Linked DNA regions of Homo sapiens: region 1 is linked to region 2. Evidence: promoter capture Hi-C in 16 types of primary human blood cells and fetal thymus (Javierre and others, 2016). All regions are on one chromosome and are shown on one strand. Each heading gives the region's core, a stretch centred on a gene start or on the middle of the fragment in contact. The rest is flanking DNA. Distances are from core to core; before and after follow the strand shown. Region 1 holds the start of GRM1 (glutamate metabotropic receptor 1). Region 2 holds the start of RAB32 (RAB32, member RAS oncogene family).

Evidence for each region. Contacts are between HindIII fragments. The CHiCAGO score rates a contact against its expected background, and 5 or more counts as called.
Region 1: a fragment that was not itself captured here is called in contact with the fragment with the promoter of RAB32 in region 2 in 1 of 17 cell types (endothelial precursors); the score reaches 9.7 in endothelial precursors.

The regions. Positions count from the first base shown.
Region 1 is chr6:146,027,005-146,033,343 of GRCh38, forward strand. It overlaps GRM1 (glutamate metabotropic receptor 1), which reads left to right and starts at 2,058. Exons shown (of 8, transcript NM_001278064.2): 1 at 2,058-3,213. The coding sequence starts at 2,514. RefSeq lists enhancers at 1,876-2,376, 2,377-2,877. The HindIII fragment of the contact is 542 bases long and covers 4,083-4,624 here.
Region 2 is chr6:146,540,095-146,546,971 of GRCh38, forward strand. It overlaps RAB32 (RAB32, member RAS oncogene family), which reads left to right and starts at 3,739. Exons shown (of 3, transcript NM_006834.5): 1 at 3,739-4,027. The coding sequence starts at 3,778. RefSeq lists a silencer at 3,313-3,692. The HindIII fragment of the contact is 5,944 bases long and covers 1-4,600 here.

The DNA.
Region 1 (6,339 bases), core at 3,104-5,603, 510 kb before region 2:
GAATGTGATTTAACTTCCGCTTTTCACACAGTCAGAAGCAACACCATAGACCTGTAGGGAAGGTGATGGCCGCCTGGGAGGAATTTGGATAAGTATTTGTCACTCCAGTATTTTCATGTGACCTGACTCTCATTCTCAATTTAGTTACATCTTGACCTGAAAATGCAGCCACAATATGTCTCTCTTCATTTGGCATACCTTAATTCATAATGGGCATGCCTGTCCTTTCCCTTCTCCCACCCTATGCAGCCTCTTCCTGATTTCCCTTGCAATCTACTAATAGAGCCTTTCTTTAGATGTCTGTACATGTGTTTACACTCTGTTTCCCTCTGTAGGGACTTTACTCGCAGAAAGAGAAAATATATTTGAGTCCCTGAGATATATATACAAAGATATCTACCCCAAAGCAGCCTAGGCAGTTCTCCACTTCTTTGGCCAGATTGTCTGACTATTCACGTATCTGGCAGCTTCTATACGACCCCTCATATAGTAAAGGAATTAATATTCCCCACTTCCTCCTAGTTTGTCTCCCCTCCTCCCTCTATCAAACGACTGATTTTTATACATGAGATAATAGACAAGCCTTGGGTGACCTGTTTTTTTTTTTCTTCCCTCCCCCTCTTTTTCCCTTGCGGTAAAATAGTGCTGAAGAAAGAGGGCACTAGTGTACAGCCCAGATCGCATCCTTGCACCGTCTGGATTAGAGCTGAGGCGTCTGCAAGCCGAGCGTGGCCACGGTCCTCTGGCCCCGGGACCATAGCGCTGTCTACCCCGACTCAGGTACTCAGGTATGTCTCAAGTCCATGTCCTCCAAACAGACTCAGGTGAGCGGACACTTCCTCCGGTGAAACCCACCCACAACGGCAGACAAAGTCCCAGTCTATCAGATTTTCCTCCGGGTCCCAGGCGCATTCTCGCTTATGTATTTCTTTTCGTCCTGTATCCTCAGGAAGAGTCGGGACCAATGGGTGCCTGGGTTTTCTTTCTCCTTTTTCTGCCTCACCTCCTGTGCTCTCCTCGCCCGCTCCCATAGCCCCCTTTTCGTCGACTCTCACCTTGAGAAAAGGAGCAGGGGAGGAACGGGAGAGGGAGCCAACTTCAGCCCCGCAGGCGGCTGAGATTTGGCGCCTCTGTCCCCAAGCGGGTGGGTTTGGATATATACCTGCACAAGCGGTGCAAGGTGATGAGAATGAGGGCGGAGGGGCGGTGGGGACTCGAGTGGAAGGGAGTGTGTGTGTGTGTGTGTGTGTGTGTGTGTGTGTGTGTGTGTGTGTATGGGTAAAGAACTCAGAGGAGGGAGGTTGAAAGAGCAAAGCGGGTCAGGGAATTGCAACTCACTGGTCAAAGCGTCCCTTGCAGGCCCTGCCAGGGAATGTCTGGCTGGACCGAGCACTGTCCAGGGTCCTGAAGGCGGCAGGGCTCAGGCTGCCGCGGCGAGAGCAACCCGGAAGCTCCCCTCCGTTCCCTTTCTAGCAACTATGCAAACCCCAAAGCAAGCGCAGGACCCCCCCTAACCCGTCCACCCACCGCGGGAAACAAGTTACCTTATCTGCACCCCTTCTTCTTGAACATACACAGCAAGCCTGACTTCTTACGGGGGAAACATACCAAACTCCTCCATACGGAGACTTTACCAGGCGTTGCCTTAGTAACTAATGTGGATTTTCTTCAAGCTGGCAAATTTATATTTACAGCTGATTTTATGTCAGGGCTTCTTCAACCCCTCAAAATTAAAGTAAAAGGTGCATCCTTTGTTTACGTTTATTTTAAAGTCGCGCTTCCACCTTTACAATGAGTTTCCAAATTTTCTTCTGAAAAAAAGTTGATCTTTTCCAATCCGGAAAGTTCTCTTGGGTTGAAGGACCTAGCTCCTCCCCTCCTCTCTGCTCACCTTCCCCACCGCCCTCCAAGTTAGAAAGCATGATAGGTTTTAGGGGACCAGGAAACGACTTAAGGTTGGAGGAGCGGGCGAGTTGGCGGGGCTCTGCGCCGCCTGGACCCGTGAGGACAGAGGGGGCAGGACACCCCGCCTTCCTCAGTGACCACAGCTGCGCTCCAAGCTGTTCCTGCAGCCGATATCAGGATGTGCCGAAATGAAACGGACAAGGCAACTGTTAACATTATAGACCCCAGAGTTTTAACACAGGTCCTCTGATGACAAGGTTGTGATTTTTCTCTGTCTTTTGTCAGCAGCATCTAGCTCACCGCTGCCAACACGACTTCCACTGTACTCTTGATCAATTTACCTTGATGCACTACCGGTGAAGAACGGGGACTCGAATTCCCTTACAAACGCCTCCAGCTTGTAGAGGCGGTCGTGGAGGACCCAGAGGAGGAGACGAAGGGGAAGGAGGCGGTGGTGGAGGAGGCAAAGGCCTTGGACGACCATTGTTGGCGAGGGGCACCACTCCGGGAGAGGCGGCGCTGGGCGTCTTGGGGGTGCGCGCCGGGAGCCTGCAGCGGGACCAGCGTGGGAACGCGGCTGGCAGGCTGTGGACCTCGTCCTCACCACCATGGTCGGGCTCCTTTTGTTTTTTTTCCCAGCGATCTTTTTGGAGGTGTCCCTTCTCCCCAGAAGCCCCGGCAGGAAAGTGTTGCTGGCAGGAGCGTCGTCTCAGCGCTCGGTGGCCAGAATGGACGGAGATGTCATCATTGGAGCCCTCTTCTCAGTCCATCACCAGCCTCCGGCCGAGAAAGTGCCCGAGAGGAAGTGTGGGGAGATCAGGGAGCAGTATGGCATCCAGAGGGTGGAGGCCATGTTCCACACGTTGGATAAGATCAACGCGGACCCGGTCCTCCTGCCCAACATCACCCTGGGCAGTGAGATCCGGGACTCCTGCTGGCACTCTTCCGTGGCTCTGGAACAGAGCATTGAGTTCATTAGGGACTCTCTGATTTCCATTCGAGATGAGAAGGATGGGATCAACCGGTGTCTGCCTGACGGCCAGTCCCTCCCCCCAGGCAGGACTAAGAAGCCCATTGCGGGAGTGATCGGTCCCGGCTCCAGCTCTGTAGCCATTCAAGTGCAGAACCTGCTCCAGCTCTTCGACATCCCCCAGATCGCTTATTCAGCCACAAGCATCGACCTGAGTGACAAAACTTTGTACAAATACTTCCTGAGGGTTGTCCCTTCTGACACTTTGCAGGCAAGGGCCATGCTTGACATAGTCAAACGTTACAATTGGACCTATGTCTCTGCAGTCCACACGGAAGGTAGGCATTATATTTGGGAAAGAAGGGTACTGAGAAAGTCAGGGCAATGCATGATGTGCTCCTGGGATCATAGTATTGTTCCTGTTTATTTCTAGCACTGTGGGGAACGGAGTTTACCCTTCTCAGTACTGCCCACCCAGGCATTGCCTTTTATCCTCATTTCCTTACAATTATAGTGTAGGAAAATTGTACCCCATAGAATATCTGAGGATAATAGGAGCTGAAAGGGTATCAAACTTTCCATGCAAAGTGTCCAGCAGTAGATTTGACTTGAATACTTGTTTGCCCTCATATTTTGAGTTTGCGTTTGGAAGGCTTATTTGTCCAAGGTGTTATATTGCCCTTCAGTGACTGGCTATGACTTTCCAGGTGTAATGAGTTAATTCAGTGTGAGTGATTGGCAAAAAGAAGTTACTATTCCACAAATAGGACTTCAAAGCTTTATCTTTCTTTAACAGTTGAAGATTTTCTTTGTCCTCTTGTACCCCTTCTTACATATCCAAAACTTTCCTGTGAATGTAGGATTAATGCAGTCATCTCCCTCAGTATATCAGAAACTTATATTTTTACTTCTGGAGTACCTTAGTTACAAAGAAAAAGTAAGTAATTTAAATAATGTATTTTCTTCTTACTTTATAGGCTAAAATCATCCAGATTCCCTCACTCCCCCAAGAATTATCTTGTTTTATGAGAAATAACACTGGTGACCACTTGGATTTGAGTTTTGGTTTCTAGTCTTTTTTCTTCTAACACAATGAACTTACATATTAGAATTAAAGTTAGATCAGTTATAAAATACTAATGAATGGATAGCAGATATTAGGTTTATAATGTCTTTCTAAAATGCAATAGATTAACCTAAGGTTAAAAGCTTTGATTTTTCCAGAGACTTATGGATGTGAATTTTCAAAAATTTTTTATATAAAGATTTTCTAGACTCTCTTCACCTTAGGTTATATACATTTTTTAATAAAAGGGGATTTCTGAGCTCAGCTACTCTTAAGTCCCCCAGTAGGTTTATGAAAAAGCTGAAGCCCTGGTTATAAATTAACATCTAGGACAATTCACATGTATAAGCTGGCAGAAGAAGACAATCTTGCTGGTATTTCTGTATTCATATTTCTTCAACTCAAATGACTTTCAAGAAGCCATAGGCATGGCTCCATGTTTTTTTAATATTTCCATAATATTCAGTTACTGGCGTGAGGTCTGATTATAGAAATTGACAGCATCCATAGTGAAGTGATTATATGGTTATCATTATTGAAAACATATACTTTATAAAGGGAACAGAATTTTCAGAACAAACATAAATGATATAGGATTACACATTATAATTTCAGATTTTGCTTTTGGAAAAAACTATCTGCTGTGATATTATAACTTTATAATAACTGACTTATGCTTCTGAAGCTTGATTTTTAATCATGAACTGCGTATCTCTTTTTGAACAAAAATTCATTACTTTTTTAAGACTCAAAGTATTAATTCCTTATATTTTAATATTTAACTTTACTACATGTTAATGTTTAGCATAGTTTCTTTAGTGCTTGCTTAAATGAAACATCCTGAAAGAGCAAGTTAAAATGTGTTAAATATCATCATTGGATAGATCCAAAGATGATGGCAAAGAGAATGGCAAAATCTAGATTGAATGTGATTTATTTAAATATTTAATAATATTTCCCCCATTGAGCTAGATAATTGATTATTAATATTGGAAGTATAAATTCTTTCTTCAGGAAGAAGTAATGCTTCATTATTTTTAAACAGTGGTTTTATTTTCCATATTTCATTATAAGATTGTTTTATTTGGTGAGAGGTGGCTAATAGTGGGTTGCTTTCTGAGGAGTAGAATTATGTTTTTGGAAAATGAATTGAACATGTTTTCACTAATTTTGCTGCGAAAGGACTAATATTATAATTTTGCCCATGTGTTAGTTTGGATTACTATGTTTCCTTTCTGCCTTCTGATTGGTGTTGTATGGCAAAGACAATGTCTCCGTACTATTATAGTAATTGATTCCAGACTACATTGTGTTCACAGAACAGCATCATAGAAATATGTGGGGTTTATTTTATTACCAAGCAGTTACACCATTCACCTTGCCATTCATATATAATACCTTGTTTCTTCTCAAAGGGAATTAGTTACTTCTCTTATTAAACGTAACATCTGTAAAAACTAAATTGCATTTCTTTCCTTCTATCTGGAAAGGAATTTTGTGTAAGGTCCCACTGAAGATTCATTTTTCCTGAGGTTTTGCCCTCCTGCTTTTCAGGGCCCCATAGTGTACTGGCCTACAGGCACTTCCTTGGATCATTTAGTAATTTTACTGCTTTCAGACTGATGGGGTCGCTTATTGGTGACAGTTCCCTGTCAAATAGCAGAGAAGACCACATATCAGGGTTGTCTCTGTCGTCTGAGCACTATTCAGCAAGGAAGCCAGTTTGTCTGGATATTGGCAACTTAGGGCTTAGAAATTCTGGGGCCTCTCGTGACCTTCATCTCTCCTTTCCAAATCAGCCATTCCCTAGTCAATTCATTATCATCGTTTCTTGTATTAGAAGTTAACCAAGAATAGTTAATACCAAAAGCACTAAGTGACTGGACTAGTGTACCTTCATTTCTGTAGTTAATTGTGAGATTATCTTGAAATCATATTGTTTTTGAATGGTACAGTTGTTTTTATATTACTTTTTTTTATATTGAAGCTAAACTTGCAGATATTTTCTGTTTTGTTTTGTGTTTTAACCAGTTACAATTTAGTTTTTATATTCTCTTACATTCTTTTCAATCTTATATCATATTATTTGTACCACACTTGATACATGACAATTATCAATTTACATAAAATGAAAGAAAATCAGTACACATAAAGTTACCTGCAATGCAATAGACTCTCCAGAAATTGTTCATGATTAGCTCTGGAGGCAAATGTTAAGATGAGCCTGTCAAGGGGGAGGCAGGATATTGGAGTAATGGAGCCTTATCCACAAATAAAGTTTGAATGCACTTTGGAGCAAGCTGCCTACCTGGAATGTGAGTCTTTAAATATGCTAAGTATATAGTAGAGAAATAGCCTACCACTGATAAGAATATCTCAGCCAAGGACACTATATTTT
Region 2 (6,877 bases), core at 2,489-4,988:
GAACACAACATAAAATTTACTTTCTTAAATGTTTAAGTGTGCAAGACTATTGTTAACTGTAGGCACAATGTGGTGCAGCAGATCTCTAGAACTTATTCATCTTGCATAATTGAAATTAGCAATTTCCCTTTTCTCCCTGACTCCAGACCCTGAAAACCACCATTCTCCTTCCTGATTTTCTGAGTTTGGCTATTTTAGATACCTTATATAAGTGGATTCATGCAGAATTCTTCCTATTGTGACTGGCTTATTTCACTCGGCATAACGTCTTTGAGGTTCATCCATGTTGTTGCATATTGTGGAAATTCCTTATTTTTAAGGTGGAATAATATTCCATTATATAAGGATGGCTATTATATTTTTTAAAAGACAACAAGTGTTGGTAGAGATGCAGAGAAAATTGAACGCTTGTATACTGGTGATGAGAATGCAAAATGGTGCAGCCACTATAGAAAATAATATGGAGATTTCTCAAAAAATTAAAAATGGAACCACCATATGATCCAGCAATCCCACTTCCAGGTATTTCTCCAAAAGAATGAAAATCAGAATCTTGAAGAGATATTAGCACCCAAATGTTCAATACAGCACAATTGACAATAGTCAAAGTGTGGAAGCAATCTCAATATCTACGGAAGGATAAATGGATTTAAAAAAAAGTGGTATGTATTACTAGATACATAAGAACTTTTAAGTTCGAGAAGCAAATTCTGATCCAAACCACTGTGCTCCTAGACACTTAGCAGCAACATCTCCTGGGAACTTGTTAGAAATGCAAATTATTTGCCTCACCCTAGATCTGAATCAGAACCCCTCTGTTTTAACAAACCCAGAACTCTCAAGTTTGAAAACCACTCATCTAAACTCTTATCCTGTCTTTGAATCGTTGATCCACAACTTTATCCTGCCTTTAGCAGTGACCTTTTCTAATTTTAAGCACCACCACAATTCTACCTCTAAAGTCAGTGGAAATTCAGCAGGGCTAGAGAAGGACGAATAAAAAAAAACATCTATGGTATTACATACGTACGGAACAAAATGCTGCACTTTGTCCAAAAATTGGAGGATTTCCTTTTTTTCCCAAACTGTACATGGGTTTGGAAGGGCTCTCTAATTGGGTGAACATAAAAGCCATGTACTGGTTGGCTGTACTTCCACATCTGTGGTTTTTCAATAGCTATTCTAGAAAAAGGTTTTACTCCCACCTTGACTTCTAAATTTTAAAACGCCTCCATCTCTGAAAAACACTTTTCAATAATTGTCAATTAGAGTGAGGATAGTAGGGTAAGCAGCTGCTTTAGTTTATTTAAGGAAGCTGCCAGATGATGTCAGCTCCAGGTGTTTCTAAATATTAAGGTGATGGGGTGCATCCCTCAACTTTATAGATAGAGAAAGCAAGGGGCTGTCCCCCATGTTTCTTCTTTAAAATAAAAACCCACAAGTCTACTACTTTCCAATCAATTTCCTATGATTTATCTTAGAGCATTTACATCTAATCCAAACACTACCAGATGAAGGTTGAAAAAGGATTGTTAGGGAAGTAAAGTAAGATGGCTTCAGAGTCCCTGTGTCTTCTTTCTCAAACTCCTTCCATAATTTAAATGCTAAAGCATGATAAGGTTTTTAATAGACTATTTTGTTGTGTGTGTGTGTATATATATATATATCTATATCTAAGGTATACGGCATGATGCTTTGATATACATAGTGAAATAGTTACTAGAGTTAAGCAAATTAACAAATTAACATGTCCATCATCTCACATAGTTACACAATTTTTTCTTTTCATTTTTTCTTTTCTTTTTTTTTTTTTTTTTTTTTGAGATGGTCTCACTCTGTCGCCCAGGTGGAATACAGTGGTGCGATTAAGCTCACTGAAGCCTGGACCTCCCAGGCTCAGGTAGTCGTCCCACCTCAGTCTTCTGGGTAGCTGGGACTACAGGTGGGTGCCACCACACCTGGCTGCAATTTTTTTTTAATGGTAACAGCACTTACAGTCTACTCTCTTAGCAAATTTCCAGTTTAAAATACAATATTATTAACTATAACGCTCATGCTACATTAGATCATTAGGACTCATTCATCCTATATAACTGCAACTTTGTACACTTTGACCTGCATCATTCCGTTTCTTCCCTGCCCCTGGTAACCACCACTGTTTCCACGTATTCCGTGTGTGTGTGTGTGTGTGTGTGTGTGTTTAAGATTCCACATATAAGTGATATTGCACAGTATCTTTCTTTTTGTGTCTGGCTTATTTCGCTTAGCATAATGTCCTCCAGGTTTATCCATGTTGTTGCAAATGTCAGGATCGCCTTCTAAAGGCTGAATGATATTCCATTGTGTGTGTGTGTGCGTCTGTGTATATGCGCGCGTGCATGCCTATGTATGTATTACAATTTCTTTATCCATTCATCGTTAACAGACACTTTGGTTGTTTCCAAATCTTCGCAACTGTGAATAATGCTGCATGAACTTGAGAGCGATTTCTGAGATCCTGATTTCATTTCCTTTGAGTATACACCCAGAAGAGGGATAGCTGGGTCACTGGCTTTAGCAACGATTTTTGCAATATCACACCAAAAGCCCAGGCAACCAAAGCAAACCTAGATAAATGGGACTTCATCCAACTAAAATGCTTCTGCACCGCATAGGAAATAATCAACAAAATGAAAAAACAGCCTATAGATTGGGAGAAAATATTTGTGAGCCATATATCTGATAAGGGGTTAATATCCAAAATACATTACGTTCACAGAACTCAGCCAAAATAAATAAATAAAACACCCAGTTAACTAACGGGCAAAGGATGTGAATGGACTTTTTTTTTTTTTCCAGAGGAAGTACAAATTGCCAACAGGTATAAGAAAAGGCGCTCAAAATCACTAATGAACAGGGAAAAGCCACTAGGTATCTCCTCACACCTGCTAGGATGACTGTTATAAAAAAGATAAGCGATAATAAGTGTCGGTGATGTGCGGAGCAAAGGGAACCTTGTACACTGGTGGTGGGAATGCGGACTGGAACAGCCATTATGGAAAACCCTACGGAGGTTCACTCAAAAAGTTAAAAACAGAACTACCAGCCCAGTGTTATCCGTCCTTCGTTAAGTTCAAAGTCACGGTGCCACTTCCTTTCCCATCTAAAGGGGACTGCTCGCGACCCAAGCCAAGGCCCGCAAGTGTGGCTCTCCCTGCGGGGAGAGTAGGGCAGGAGGTGGATTTCCAGGCCAGAGGCTTCCAGGCTGGGCCCGGACCCCACGCCGACCCCGGCCCCGGGGGGGGCTCAGCGACCTCGGCGCCTCCTCAGGCCCCCAGTGAACCTCCGGGGCCCATAAAGGCTCCAGGCCGGCTCCCCGGAGGCCCACCAGCGGGCGTCTGGGCCTCCCTCCGCGCCGCGACCGCCAGGAGGCGCCGCCCGGGAGAGGAAGTCCAGCTGGGCCCGGCCGGGCTTCGGAGGCGCCGCCCGGGAGAGGAAGTCCAGTTGGGCCCGGCCGGGCTTCAGAGGCGCAGGGCGGGAGCCGCCTCGCGCAGGGTCCTCCCCAAGCCGGCGCCAGGCCCTGCCCTCGTCCGGCCCTGCCCTCGTCTGGCCCCGCCCGGGCCGCGAGCACTGGCGGGTTCTGGGTCCTGTGACCGGTCAGGCGGCGTCAGCGGGCGCGGCGGAGGGCTGGCCGGCCTCGGGGGAGTTTCCGCGGCCGCCGGGGGCGCGGCGGCAGAGCGCGAGGCCGGGCAGGGGGCCAGACTCGGAGTCGAGGCGCGCCCGACAGCCGCAGCGCTCATGGCGGGCGGAGGAGCCGGGGACCCCGGCCTGGGGGCGGCCGCCGCCCCAGCGCCCGAGACCCGCGAGCACCTCTTCAAGGTGCTGGTGATCGGCGAGCTTGGCGTGGGCAAGACCAGCATCATCAAGCGCTACGTCCACCAGCTCTTCTCCCAGCACTACCGGGCCACCATCGGGGTGGACTTCGCCCTCAAGGTCCTCAACTGGGACAGCAGGACTCTGGTGCGCCTGCAGCTGTGGGACATCGCGGGTAAGCGCGGCCGCGAGTTTCCCACTCCAGAGCCCCGCCGGGCCGCCTGGCTCCTCTCTGCTTCTTTTCTTTTTCTTTTCTGCCTGAACTCGTCTGCCTGGGTACCTTTAGGAGAAGAGAGAGGCCCAATCCAAGGGCGAGATGCGATGGACGCGGTCGGCTGGACTCGGTGGGGCCCAGAGGATGGGATGGGCAGTAGGAGTTGGAGCAGGTCCTGCACGCCAGAGCTCGCTCTCCTGAAGGGAGGCGAGGAGGCCAGGGGGCCTTTTCCAGAAGTTTGAACTCTGAATAATGCAAGTATATCATACATACACCAGGACTAGTTGAGAAGGCTGCTTTGGAGCGGGCCGGCGCCTCTCAGCCTCAACTCAAGTTCAGAGGGATTGGGTGACTTAACCCGAAGCTGCACTCCTAGTTAGTGACACCACCAAGACCAAAAGCCAGGTTCCTTTCCAGATCATTTTCCACCACCCGCCTTGGCTCTGAGACTGGCCTTTGTGAGGGAAACTCCATTCCTCAAATACTTTGCTCTCATCGGAAGCCGAGGACAGACACTCCGTGAAGATTTGGGAAAGCTTTTCTGAAACCTTACACTCACCCCTTCCTCTCTTGCTAAACCAACACCTAGTCCCATCCCTGGTGCCCTCGCCCCCCCCCGCCCCCCCCCCACTCCTCAATACAGTGTTTCTCTGCCATTTGCTTTCATTTGTTCTGTTTGAGGGGGTACATTTCCCTCTGCTCTGATTTATGAACACTTGAACTTTGCCTGGTGTGGTGGTTGGGAGTGGGCGTTTTAAAGATGATGTTAACTATTGGAAAGTTCATAGAAATGGTACCAAGCCAAGTGCCAGTGGCTCACGCCTGTAATCCCAGCACTTTGGAAGGCCTAGACTGGAGGATCGCATGAGCACAGGAGTTCGAGACCAGCCTGGGCTGTTAGTGAGACCCTGTCTCTACAAAATACATACATACATATATACATACATACATACAAAAAATTAGACAAGTGTGGTCGTGCGTGCCTGTAGTCCCAGCTACTCAGGAGCCTGAGGCAGGAGGATCACTTGACCCTAGGAGAGGTCAAGGCTTCAGTGAGCTGTGTTCTCACTGCTGTACTCCAGCCTGGTCAACAGAGTGAGACCCTATCTCAGAAAAAAAAAAAAAAAGTACGAAAATTACTCTGTTCAATCATTACAGGTGTTAAGAAGCACAGTCTGCAGTACAGCATTAGAATGGGAGCTGGTTTAGGGTTAGAGGACACCTGAGGCCACCCTTCATTCTACAGTCCCTACACTGAAGCCCATGGAGGGTATAGCTACCTGGCTGGTAGCAGAGTGGTTGGGGGGATCACAGGTCTACTGTCTGTCTGCCAGGTAGTGCTCTTGTCATTTATAGCTTGTTACATAAGAAAGAGTAGTAAATAATTGTAACCTATAACTCATTCATTTAAGAGCACATTTCTGTCCCTCAGACAGGAGAATAACTGTATGCAACTCAGTTGCTCAGAAAAAAGGAGTAATCAGCCAGGGACTCAGCTTTTTGTTGTTGTTTTTTGTTACCAAAAACCAAAAGTTCGTTTGAAAAGTCATCTTTGAAGCCAGAAGTTTTTTCGAAACACTTCCTGCCGTTGCACAGAACCCTAATGAGCAGTATTTCTGCTTCTTGACAAAGTCATGGATTCTAAAGGTTGCCTTACCATGTGACGGTCATTCTCCAGGAATCTGCAGCATAGCTGAGGTTTTTCACAAAGATGGTTTTAAAACCTTGCTTACAAGGGTGATTGACCTTGCCTTACTCTTTATGTAAATTATGGCATTTTGTTATTAAACTACGATTGGGTCCCACTGCTGGTAAATCAGTATGAGTAACTAGATTTTTAAGTGTTTATAGTTAGAAACTTGAGAAAGTAAAAGCAGGAGTAAGATACAAATTTTCTTTCTGGTATCACCTCTTCTTTTTTTATTAATCACAGACCTCGAATGACAGGAAGGGGTCATATCTAGTTTTTTATCAGACTCTGATAAACATCTGCCTAGATGGGATATCCTTGTACTTTTCACTAAATCCAAAGCTTGAGTTTTGCCAGGAAGGAAAACAAAAGTTTAAGATCTCCAAAAGGGATTTCTGGATGTTAGATATTGTTTCAACAGGTATTGTTGTCCCATACAGCAAGTACAGACCAGCAATTTACAAAATTAGAGGTAAATTTATAGAAATTATTAGGCTCACATTATAAGTAAGATTTTCAGAGATAGAATTTTAATATCTCTGAATATGAGGGAGAAAAATAGCTTAGTGAGAGACCAAAAACAAAAAAAAAACAAAAAAAACTGTTTTAGAGACCAAAAAAAGCAAAACAAAACAAAAAATCCTTAGCCTAAAGTTTGGAGAGCTACATTACTAACTGTTTGATTTGAATATTTGAGCTACTAGTGAATCTCAGCTCATACCATTTGAATTAAGTAATGATGATGTAATGAAGGCAAACTGATGGCTGCTCCACAAACTTCCCCCAGGGCTAAGCATACTTGCCTTATGTAGTAACAAAGTTGGATCATATTTAATTCTCAAATAATAGAAATATTCTTTGATTGCACAATAGTAGATAGAGCCAGCTACTTGCCATAACTAAGTTAAGGTGTGGTGTTTTTACTAGTTAGGTTTTTTTTTTTTTTTTTTTTTTGGTTGCTTCAGTGAGAGGGCGAGGTAGTGAAGAAATTATGACGAATCTCTATGCTTGAAAGCTGTGGCAAGTATGATAGGCTAGAATTATCAAATGTTTTCTACACATGTAGCTAAGCAGATTCAGCTGAACTCTTCAGGTTAAGAACCACTGTGATCCTCAGATAC